Regions from separate parts of the Homo sapiens genome. Here region 2 is linked to region 1. The links are contacts of gene promoters, found by promoter capture Hi-C in blood cells and fetal thymus (Javierre and others, 2016). All regions are on one chromosome and are shown on one strand. Each heading gives the region's core, a stretch centred on a gene start or on the middle of the fragment in contact. The rest is flanking DNA. Distances are from core to core; before and after follow the strand shown. Region 1 holds the start of ZNF239 (zinc finger protein 239). Region 2 has its middle 74 kb from the start of LINC00839.

The links. The method cuts DNA at HindIII sites, captures the fragments that hold promoters and counts their contacts. A CHiCAGO score of 5 or more calls a contact.
Region 2: a fragment that was not itself captured here is called in contact with the fragment with the promoter of ZNF239 in region 1 in 2 of 17 cell types (activated CD4 T cells and total CD8 T cells); the score reaches 8.9 in activated CD4 T cells.

What each region holds. Positions count from the first base shown.
Region 1 is chr10:43,571,881-43,577,788 of GRCh38, reverse strand. ZNF239 (zinc finger protein 239) reads left to right here and starts at 3,173. Exons shown (of 4, transcript NM_001099282.2): 1 at 3,173-3,249; 2 at 4,112-4,152. RefSeq lists a silencer at 3,391-3,450. The HindIII fragment of the contact is 4,716 bases long and covers 1-3,796 here.
Region 2 is chr10:42,545,930-42,552,104 of GRCh38, reverse strand. It overlaps the pseudogene ZNF37BP. Among named protein-coding and RNA genes, the nearest start is that of LINC00839, 74 kb to the right of the region's middle. RefSeq lists an enhancer at 1-499. The HindIII fragment of the contact is 3,766 bases long and covers 597-4,362 here.

The DNA.
Region 1 (5,908 bases), core at 1,924-4,423:
TGGGTAATTTATAAAGAAAAGAGGTTTAATTGACTCACACTTCCACATGGCTGGGGAGGCCTCAGGAAACTTACAATCATGTTGGAAGAAGAAGCAGTCACCTTCTTCACAAGGTGGCAGGAGAGAGAAGAACAAAGGAGGAACTTCCAAACATATCTCACAAACCATCAGATCTTGTGAGAGCTCACTCACTGTCATGAGAACACCATGGGGGAAACTGCCCCTTGTGATCCAATCACCTCCCTCCCTCCACTTGTGGGAATTACAGGTCCCTCCCTCAACACGTGGGAATTACAATTCAAGATGAGATTTGGGTGGGGACACAGAGCCAAAACATACCAAGGTGTAATACACAGTTAGACAGAAAAAATAAGACCTGGTGTTCAATAAACCAGTAGGTTAGCTATGGTTAACATTAACCTACTGTACATTTCAAAATAGCCAGAAGAGAATCATTTGAATATTTCCGGCATACAGAAAAGACAAATACTTGGCGATAGATATCCCAATTTCCCTGCTTTGATCTTTACACATAATATTAATCAAATTATCACATGTACCCCCAAAATATGTGCATCTATTATATACCAATTTTTAAAATTAAGTTAAAAATTAAATTTTGGGTTTTGCATGTGAAAAAAGAGAGAATATGGGAGAAAAGAAATTGGAAACATCCCTTAGGGACAATTTTTTTAGGAGTTTTGCTGTAAAGCAAAGCAGAGAAATGAGGTAGTGGCTGGAGAGAAATAGGGTGCAAGGTAAGGGGTTTTATTTATTTTATGGACAATATTACAGTGTATTCATTAGTATGCTGATAATTCAGTACAGAATGAAAATCTTGAAATACAGAAGAGAGAGAAGGACCTCATTCATGAGAAAGCATTTAACATCCAGGGTGCAAAAGAATTTTCTCATATAGGAACTAGGGCCAGTGACTCAGAATGAAAAGTAGAGCATACAGTTTCTAATGCAGAGAGGAGGGCAGATGTGCCTGTGAGGCGGTATAGAAGTTCTCTTTACTCAGTAACAGAAAGCAAAGTCATCAGCACTCAGTGAGATGGGAGGAGTTGTTGGCGGCTTGAAAAGAGAGTAGAAGACCAGGCATGGTGGCTCAGCCTGTAATCCCAGCACTTTGGGAGGCTGAGGTGGGACGATCGCTTGATCCCAGGAGGTGGAGACCAGCCCGAACAACATGGTGAAACTTCATCTCTTAAAAAAAAAAATACAAAAATTAGCCTGGTGTGGTGGCGCAAGCCTATAGTCCCAGCTACTTAGGAGGCTGAGGTGGGAGGGTTGCTTGTGCCCAGGAAGCAGAGATTGCAGTCAGCCAAGATCGCACTACTGAACTCCAGCCTGGCTCAAAAAAATAAATAAATAAATAATGAAAAGAGAGTAGAACCTGTGAAATAGTCATTTAGGAGAATGGATGGACTAAGAAATGTAGAAGGATAGCCAGGCAGCGTGAAGGGCCCACTTGAACTTAATGGTTATAAACTGAAAATGAAACCAATCATCCCAGCCATGTGGTTTTCTCAAACAACCTCTGCCGTACAGGCGCAGGCCAGGAACTGGATTCAAGCAGATTTGGGTTTCCATCAAGAGAATAAAACCAAGAAAGACTGGGACAAGAGAGTTAAGGGTAACGGCACATACACAGGACTGGCCATAACCATGCTCCATGGCCTCTTAAATTGAGTGAGGAGAGAAGTGAGCACATGAGGAAGTGAAGGTCAGGGCAAGGGTGGTAAATCTAAATAGGGAAAAGCTCTGTGGTTTTCCAATGAAGAATGAGGAGAGGAGTAAGGTCCAAGGGAGACATTTTGTGTTCCCCAGGCAAAAGGTAAGACAGCATCTCTGAGGAGGAGACCGAAGGGGACGTGGGCCTCTCCAAGCATCGCAGGCTGAAAATAATAGTCCCCCAAATATGTCCATGTCCTAACCCCCAGAAGCTGTGGATGTTAATTTCTATGGCAAGAGGGATTTTTTTTGAAATGTGATTAAATTAAGGATCTTGACGTCAAGAGATTATCCCAGATTAGCCAGCTGGGCCTGATGTAATCACAACAGTCGTTATTAGAAGGACCCACGAGGAGCCAGTGCCTGAGCATGTGATGTGATGATGAAGGCAGAGGTTGCAGTCATGCACTTTGAAGATAAAGGAGCGAGCCATAAGCCAAGGAATGCAAATAGTCACTGGGAACTGGAAAAGGCAAAGAAATATTCTCATCTAGAACCTCCAGGAGGAACTAGCCCCACCAACACTGACTTTATAAAGCCCAGTAAAACTTGATTTCAGACTTGGCACCTCCAGAAGTTTAAGAGAATACATGTTTGTTATACTACTAAGTTTGTGTTAATTTGTTGTGACAGCAATTGGAAACTAATACACCAAGGAAGGGGGAGGATGTAGAAGAGAGGTCCAGGCAACATCTCTTTCCTCTCCAAAATAAATCTGAAAGAAAGGAATTGGGAAAAGACCAAATGGGTAGCTCTGTGTCACTCGGTGAGAAGTGAAATAAACGTAAAATCCTGGTATCAACAACCCTTGTGTGCGTTTAGGAGAGTTCTGACTGCTGGGAGCCACTTGTCTAATTCCCTCACCTCCTGTGTTTGTTCCAAGATCCCCTATTTAAAATTGCAAAGTACACCTCCAGTCCTACACACCCACAAACGCACCTCGCCACACCCCGCCCAGCTCTATGCTTTCAGTACCACCTCATGACACACACGACGCCATATATTTACTATATTTATGGATTGCTTGTTTCCCCAACTAGAATAGGGCAGTGACTTTTGTGCAAGCATCTTGAACAGCTCCTGGTACACAGTTGGCTCTCAATTAATATCTGTTAAATGGATGAACTTCAGAGGTGAGATGGAAGATGCCGAATGGCAAATATTCACTTCAGAATGTTTTGAAAGGTAAAGATGAAATTATGGGTATTTACATCCTTTTCCCCCAATAGTATTTTAACAAATGAAAATCACCTTAACAGGTATTCCTAAAATAATTCTTATTTGTTTGTAATAAAAAACGAGGAGGAGGACTTGAATACACGCGTCGCTGACTCAAAGATGGTCCCCTCCGCCCAAGAATCCCGCTCCGCACAGCGCAGAGTTCAGGGGCCCGCGCCGGAAGTGGGCGTGGTTCGCCCGCGGCTTGCTGGGACTTGTATTTCGGGGCCCTAGGCGCGCGAGCGGTCAGCATCCGGAATCTGGCCCCTGCAGGCGTGGGGTTCCACGTGGGAGGTGAGACTGGCCGGGCTTCCCCAGCCGCTGGCAGAGGCGTTCAGGGGTCAGGAAATGGGTGTGCCGCGGGTAAGGCGCTGGGCCGCCGAGCTGCGGAAGCCGGGAGGGCGGCGATGGTAGGGCACGCGACCAGCGGAGGCGCGGCCCGCGGCGGCACGTGTGTCCCGGCGCCGCATTTCCGAGCTGCTGCGCCCCCGGGGCCGGGCTGCGGCCACACCGAAGCCTGTGGGGCCCTGCAGCTGAGCGGCCGCGCCTCCGATGGCCCCTCCTCCCTCCTGGCCGAGCTCTGGCCTGGGCCGGCTGGGGGCTTCGTGGTTGGCCACGCCGGCCTTTTCCTCGCCTGTGACGGGCGTTATTGCAGGGGGGTTTTCGGTGGACGTTAGGCGACGGACGGGGGCTCCTGTAAGAGACTGAGGTTTCTGTCCGCAGCACTGCCTTCGCTGAAAAGAGCTTGCATCTGAGCCCCCGCACCGCAGGAACGAGCCAGGCTCCTGAGAATGAGGTCGGGGAAGGCGTCTTGGGCAACCGAAATCCATCCCGAGAAGCTTCTCCTCTTAACTAGAACTTTAGGACAGAGATCGGGAAAGTCAGAGGAAATGGGCACGGCTTCGAGCTGCCGGCGGCTGCGGAATTTACCTAGCCTCTTGGTTTTGGGGGGAAAACTTGGCTTGTTTAATCGAAAGCCCTGTGGAGAGAGATGAAGGTGGTGACAGAAAATGCTTCACCTCTCACCTGATGGAGGGAGTGTGGGTGGAAGTGACTGAAGAAGCGTCAGAGGCAGGAGCGGAGTAACTTTTTCCCCGCAGTCTTGCTGGACTTGATTTTCATGGCTTTTTCTCTTTCCCTAACTCTGCCTTTCCAGGAATCCATCCCCTCTGGGAGTAAGAAATGACCAGGGTCCGGGTGAGTTGGCGTTCCATTTCTCCTAAAATGCCATCTCCCTGAAATGTCCCTGTGCCATGTGTTGTTTTCTTTATTGTCAGGCCCCCAGTACGGTATTTTATAGCTATGGATGTAGGGACATTAAGATACTAAGGACATGTAGCTAGCAGATGATGTCACCAGGGTCTGCACAGAGAGTTTTCACTGGCCCATCCTGCCTCCAAGAATTTATTCCACTCCTCAGAGCAGTGGGCTGTGCCCTCCTGGGGAGCCTCTCAAAGCCTGCCTTTTCCTGCCAGACATTTCACTCACATTGAAAGTCATTCCAAGCTATTCCATACTCATCCCAGTGCTAAGTGGTCTCAGCAAAACAGATAGAATGATAAACCACGGTGCTTTTCTTCAAGGAGCTTACCATCTTGATGAACATATTATATTACCTGTACACAAAAAAATGCATATTAATAGTGATAATTTATTAACTATGAGTCAAAAACGAGGAAATTCGTTAAATGGCAGCACAGTGGTTACAAAATCACTCTAGAAATGCTTTTCAACTAGGCTATGCATCAGAACTCTCTGTGGTGTTTTTTAAGAACTAAGCTTCCTTCTCTCTTCCAGACCTAGTGAAAGGAGAGTTTCACTCCTTTTTTATTCTGTTGATCTTTGTACATCCAAAGGTTTATTGTGAAATATCTCTCTATACACTATAAGTGTCTCTAGGGTAGGTAAAATGAGTTATTCATCCTTTATACTCAGGTTGATTTGTTCTCTTTCACTAGCATGTCTACATATTTAACTGTTCCAGTAAATTTTAAATTACCAAGTCGTACTTTTTTAAAGAGAGTTTTCAGTTGTCCCCATAAAACCATCTGTAGGAGGTTACCTCAAAATTAACCCTTAGACTCCCAGGGTATTTGAGATGGTCAGCCCCCACTTAGAATCCCATGGTGTTTGAGATGGTCGGCCCCCTCTTTGCCCTGTCCTGGCGTTTTATGGTGGAGAGCTCTAACTCGGCTAACTCTGAGAGAGCCGAAGGAAAGTGCCTTGTCCTTTGTTTCAGAGAGCAGAAGGCCAGAAATAAACCCCGTGTTTTCTTCCTTCAGGCTGTTCTTTCTCCATTAACTAAACAGGTCATCACATCAGAAGTTGTTTGAATAAAATATCAGACTGCGTTTTAAGGGAAAAAAAATGTTTTTTAACACTACCAGCAAAGGCCATCTTTTTGCTTGGCAAATACAGCCCTCACACACATGAGCTCTTAGAAAAAATCTGTTTAGAGGACAGTAAGCTGACTTGAGGTACTGAGAGCATGGCTTCTCTGTGCCCTGAAAAGTAATTGAGGACTTCAAGGGAGATTAACCTTAGTAGAATCAATACATTTTCCTTCCTTCGCTTCTGCCTGCTCCCTAATGATTAAGTATTCACTGCCGCTGCAACTGGGGATTGCCAGTTTAGTAAATTTTGAGATTCTGGTGTGTGTTACACAACAACTTTTTTAATTTAAAGGAAGGACTTCATTCCAAGCATTGTGTGTTTTCTATGTACCACACATTGTCCTTAGGTCTGCTGAAAGGCGGGAGTCTTAGTTAACCCTGCTTTTCCTCTGTGACATTGGGTAAGTCACTTCGCCCTTATGAACTGTGGTTTTTTTCTCTGTAAACTGAGGGTCTTGGGCTTGACCATCTTTATGTTTTCTTTTAGTTGTATTATTATTCATTTAAATTGAATGTGAATTTATATTTATCTTTCAGATTCCAAGTCAATTGTGGTAGTT
Region 2 (6,175 bases), core at 1,230-3,729, 1.0 Mb after region 1:
ACGGTGCAGCTTGTGGCTAAAGTGACAGGAAGATGTAGGAGCTTTCAGTCTTGGATGAGGATTCGAACTGAAGGGCTTAGGCCCAGCTGTCTTGGAGCAAAACATCTGTTGTGGGGTGAGAAGGGAAAGGAGGGGTGAGGGTGCAGGGGCCCTCCTAGGAGGACATCGGACCTGTTGGGCCGAGACCTCATTAGAGATCTAGAGCACGGATGGGAGGAGCAGAGGCTCGATTTGTGTCCTGTTCAGACTCCCACAGGCTGGGTGATGGTGGGAGATTTGTGCCCATTCAGATGTGGCGGCAGAGGAGGGCAAGGCCGAAGGAGCAGACAGCACCGCTTCTTGGGGAGTTGTGAAGGCATCATGCGGAGGGCCGAGCTTAGCAGCCAAGTGGAGGACAGCACCCTCCATGCCTGGATTCGTTACTCGCTCGTTCTCGATGTTGAGCTGCTGGCATATTGCAGCACAACTAGAGATGTACGGATGCCCCCATCTTGATCTTACAGAATCAGAGGTGCAGCCGCAAGAAAGGTCTGTAAGTTATCTATTTCGGCTTTATTTAAAAGATGGGATGGGGTGGGGTGGACAGGAAACAAGCTTAACATGTTAAGTGACTGTTGACATTGACACATTTTGTTGTGGCAGAGTCAAGAACAGACACTGAGTCGCTTGAGGACTCAGGCAGGTGTTTGCTGCATTGACAACAGAGTAAGAAAAAATCCGTTTGCTTTTTAAAATCCAAAGATGGTTTTGAGAACCTGAAACCAAGTTAGAGCAAGTTCGTTTTCCTTCCAAAAAAACTGGGCTCTGCCGGGCGCAGTGGCTCACGCCTGTAATCACAGCACTTTGGGAGGCTGAGGCCGGCAGATCACGAGGTCAGGAGTTCGAGACCAGCCTGACCAACATGGTGAAACCCCGTCTTTACTAAAAATACAAAAAATTAGCCCGACGTGGTGGTGCGCACCTGTAGTCCCAGCTACTTGGGAGGCTGAGGCAGGAGAATCACCTGAACCCAGGAGGCAGAGGTTACAGTGAGCCAAGACTGTGCCATTGCACTCCAGCCTGGGTGACAGGGCAGGACTCTGTCTCAAAAAAGCAAACAAAAAAAAACTGGGCTGAAAAATACCACATCACTTTTTTCAAAACCTTGTTGGGATTCTCTGGTTTATAATAAAGATTAAAACCTGAATATTTTTGTTTAGCATCAGTTTTAATGAAAGTATTATGTTCCATTCTTTGGCTTTTCCTAACTTGCTTAATTAGTTTAATATATTGGTTTGCATACTCTGTTAGAGTACAGCATAAGTTGTTTATAAGTCAGTAGAAAACCAAACGTTTTCACATTTGAAAACTAATGTGTCCAAGCAGTACATAACCATGCCAGAGTCATGCATGGACGTGTGAGTATCTCCCTTTTAGAGATGTTTTGCCAGCTGGGAGGTGGACATTTTTAGGCAAGTGACATTTCTCATGTTCTTTTCTTGTTTGTAAGCTACACCCTCTCGGTTTTCTCTGCTCTGCCAACACTAGTGGAATATGATCACATCCCAGGTAAGTTGTTTATTTTTTCACAGTTTTGCTTAAAACTAATTATTGAGGTTTAAAAAATGTCTATACATTCATATGAAAGTAGAAATAACATCCTGGAAAATATAGAGGAGAGGTCACATTACAGTTCATGGGTCAAATGCAGCCTACTGTCTGTTTTTTTATGGTCCACAAATGAAGGATGGTTTTTATACTTTTAGGTGGCTGAGGGAAAAAAACCAAGAGTATTATTTTGCTTGGAAATTGTATGAAATTCAGACTTCATTGTCTATGAATTTTTATTGGGACTCAGCTATACTCATGTATTTATGTATTGCCTGTTGGTACTTTCACACTACAAAGGCAGAGTTGACTGGTTGCAGCAGAGACTGTAATGGCCTACAAGCCTAAAATATTTACTGTGTGACTCTTTACAGAAAATGTTTGCTGATTTCTGATAGAGAGTTGATGAAGAGTAAGACAAAAATGTCATATAGGTGAATGCAGATCTTGTGATCTTACAGTTGTGAAACTGGAACATAAAACAGTTTGTCGGTGGGCTTTATTAGGTGACATTGTGAAACTTCTGATGACAGTCTTGCAGGTACTTAAAAAAGTAGTACAACAAAGTGAGTAATTCATGTGCAGTCCAGGGGAAAACTTAACAGATAGCAAAAGAAAGTATATGATTAAAAAATTCAAATAGGCCGGGCACATTGGCTCACGCCTGTAATCCCAGCACTTTGGAAGGCTAAGGCGGGTGGATCATGAGGTCAGGAGTTCGAGACCAGCCTGACCAACATGGTGAAACCCTGTCTCTACTAAAATTACAAAAATTAGCTGGGCATGGTGGTGCGTGCCTGTAATCCCAGCTAGTCAGGAGGCTGAGGCAGGAGTATCACTTGAACCCAGGAGGTGGAGGTTGCAGTGAGCCGAGATTGTGCCACTGCGCTCCAGCCTGGGCAACAGAGTGAGACTCCGTCTCAGGAAAAAAAAAAAAAAAAAAAAAAATCCAATGAATTGTGTAGCATTAGGACTCATGGTTGTTTAAAGAAACAGTCCTGGTAGGCTAGGGTGATCATGGGTTGTTAGGATGTGGCAGGCTTTGTGACAGCCTTAGAGACTGGGCAGAACTGGAATATTTGCAATAACTTTCGAGGGATTCTACCTAAAAAAAAAATTGTGGTAAAACACACATCACATGAAATTCACAAGCCATTTTAAAGTATAGAATTCAGTGACTTTAGTACATTCACAATGTTGTACAACCATAACCACCATTTATTTCTGGAATATTTTCATCACACCAAAAGGAAACACATCACCCTTAATAAGCAGTATTGTAACTTAATAAGCAGTTGCTCCCTTTTCCCCGCTGTGCTCCCAGCCCCTAACAACCAATAATCTCCTTTCTGTCTTTATAGATTTGCCTATTTTGGATATGGCATATGAATGGAATCATACAATTTGTGTCTGATCTCTCACTTAGAATAATGTTTTCAAGACCCATTTATGTTGTAGTTGTATATCAGTACTTTGTCCCTTTTTATGACTGAACAATATTCTATTATATGGATATATCACCTTTTGTTTATCCATTCATCTGTTGATGGACATTGGGGGTCATCCTGTGTTTCGCTATTGTGGAGAGTGCTCCTATGAGCATTCATGTACAAATATTTGTTTGAATACATGCTTTCAATTGTTTTGGGTATATACGTACAAGTGAAATTGCTGGGTGATATGGTAATTTTACATTTAATTTATTGTGAAACCGACAGTTTTCCACAGCAGGGTGCTTTGCAATCCATAGGAATTTTTAGTTAGCTTTTCTATTTCTGCAAAAAAGTATGTTGAGTTTTTGATAAGTATTGGATTGGGTAAGTATTAGAGTGGGTGATAACACTTTGGGGAGTGTTATCTTAATATTAAATCTTATAATCAATGAACATAAGATTTTTTTTCCCTAGGTCTTCTTTCCTTCATTAATATTTTGTAGTTTTCAGTGTACAAGTGTTGCATATCCTTGCTTAAATTTATTAAATAGTTTTTCATTTAAATGCTATCGTAAATTATATGAAATTCAGACTTCAGTGTCTATAAAGTTTTATCGGGACTCAGCCATACTCATGTATTTATGTATAGCCTGTGAGTACTTTCACACTACGAGGGCAGAGTTGACTGGTTGCAGTAGAGACTGTGATGGCCCACAAGCCTAAAATTTCTTTTGTTTAAATGCTATTGTAAGTGGAATTGTTAATTTGCTTTTTGACTGCTCATTGTAATGAGTACACAAATAATTTTTGAGTGTTGATCTTGTATCTTGTAATTTTGCTGAATTTGTTTCCTACTTCTAGTAGTTTCTTTGTGGATTCTTTAGTATTTTCTGCATATAAGATCATGTCATCTGCAAACAAAACTATTTCATTTCTTTCTTTCTAATTTGGGTTTATTTATTTATTTACTTAGCCTAATTCCTCTGGCTGAAATTTTTAGTACAATGTTGAATATATGTGGCCAAAGCAGGCATCTTTATTTATTGTTAGTTTTTTGCTTTAGCAATCTTAACTATTTTTGGATGTACAGTTCAGAAGCAGTGTTAAGTATATTCATATTGTACATCTAATCACCAGAATTTTTTCATCTTGGGAAATTGAAATTCTCTACCCATTAAACAATAACTCCCCATTTTCCCCTCCTCCTTGCCCCTGGCAACCACCATCCTACTTTCTGTTTCTATGAGTTTCACTATTTTTGCTATATCTCATATAAGTGAAATCATACAGTATTTGTCTTATTGTGACTGGCTTATTTCACCTAGCGTAATGTCCTCAAGCTTCCTCAGTGTTGTAGCATGTGTCAGAATTTATCTCCTTTCTGATGTTGAATGATATTTCATTGTACCCATGTTTTGTTTATTCATTCATCTGTCAGTGGACATTTGGGTTCCTTCCTCCTTTTAACTGTTGTGAATAATGCTACTGTGAACATGGGGTACAACTATTCTTTGAGATCCTTCTTTCAGTTCTTTTGGTTATATACTCAGAAGTGGTATGGCTGGAACCTATGGTAATTCTATTTTTAATTCCTTGAGGAAACACCGACCTGTTTTCTACAGAAGGTGCACCATTTTACAGTCCCATCCTCAGTGTACAGGATTCTGATTTCTCCATATCCTTGCCAACACTCGTTATTTTCTTTTGTTGTTTTGATAGCAGCCATTGTAATGGGTGTATGGTAATTTTTCACTGTGGTTTTGATTTGTATTTCCCTAATGATCAGTGATGTTGAGCATATTTTCATAAGCTTGCTGACCATTTATATATCTTTAATGGAGAAATGTCTGTTCAAATCCTTTGTCCATCTTTGAATCAGGTTATTTTGTTTGTTTTGAGTTGTAGGGGTTCTTTATATATTTTTTATATTAATTCCTCATCAGATACATGAATTGCAAATATTTCCTCCTGTTGTGTTGGTTGTCTTTTCATTCAGTTAACTGTGTCCTTTGATGCACAATTTTTAAGTTTGATGTGGTCCAATTTATTTTTATTTCTGTTGCCTGTGGTTTTTGGTATTATATCCAAGAAAACATTGCCACACGAATCCATTCTCCTATGTGTTCTGCCATGAGTTTTGTACCTTTAGTTCTTAGATTTAGGTCTTTGATTCATTTTGAGTTAATTTTTTTGTTTTTGTTTTGTTTTGCATGTGGCTATCCAGTTTTACCAACACTATTTGTTAGAAAAATTGTCCTTTCCCTATTGACTGTTCTTGACAACTTTGTTGAAAATCATTTTACCATACATGCATGGGTTTTCAAGATTATTTTGGCTAGTTGAGATCCCTTGAAATTCTATGTAAACTTCAGGATGATTTATTTCTATTTCTGTTACTATGTCTTCTTTGTAGACTTAGTTTTTTTTTTTTTTTAATCAATATGTAGTGTTTTTCTCTTGTAACAATTTTTGATTTAAAGTCTCTTTTGTCTCAGTATAGCCACCCTGGCATTCTTTAGGTTACTATCCTCTTCTGTCATTTCAATTTCAACCTATTGTGTTGTGTGTTTGTATCTAAAGAGAGTGTCTTGTAGACAATATATACCTGGATCATATATTTTTATTTATTTTGCCAATTTATTTTTATTTTTATTATTTATTTTATTTTATTTTTTTTTTGAGACAGAGTCTTACTGCATCACCCAGGCTGGAGTGCAGTGGTGCGATCTTGACTCTCTGCAACCTCTGCCTCCAGCGTTCAAGCAGTTCTTCTGCCTCAGCCTCCCGAGTAGCTGGGATTACAGGTGTACACCACTACACCTGGCTAATTTTTGTATTTTTTTTTTTTTTTTAGTAGAGATGGGGTTTCACTGTATTGGTCAGGCTGGTCTCAAACTCCTGACCTCGTGATCCGCCCACCTCAGCCTCCCAAAGTGCTGGGATTACAGGTGTAAGCCACCATGCCCAGCCTATTTTGCCAATTTCTGTCTTTTAGTTGGGAGTTTAGTTTATTTACATTTAGAGTAAATTATAAACTGATAAAGGACTTATACCATTTTGCTATTTGTTTTCCATACGTATTACATCTTTTTTGTTTTCAGTTTTTCTGTGTATGCCTTCTTTTGTGTTTGTTTTTTTCTAATGTGCCATTTTAA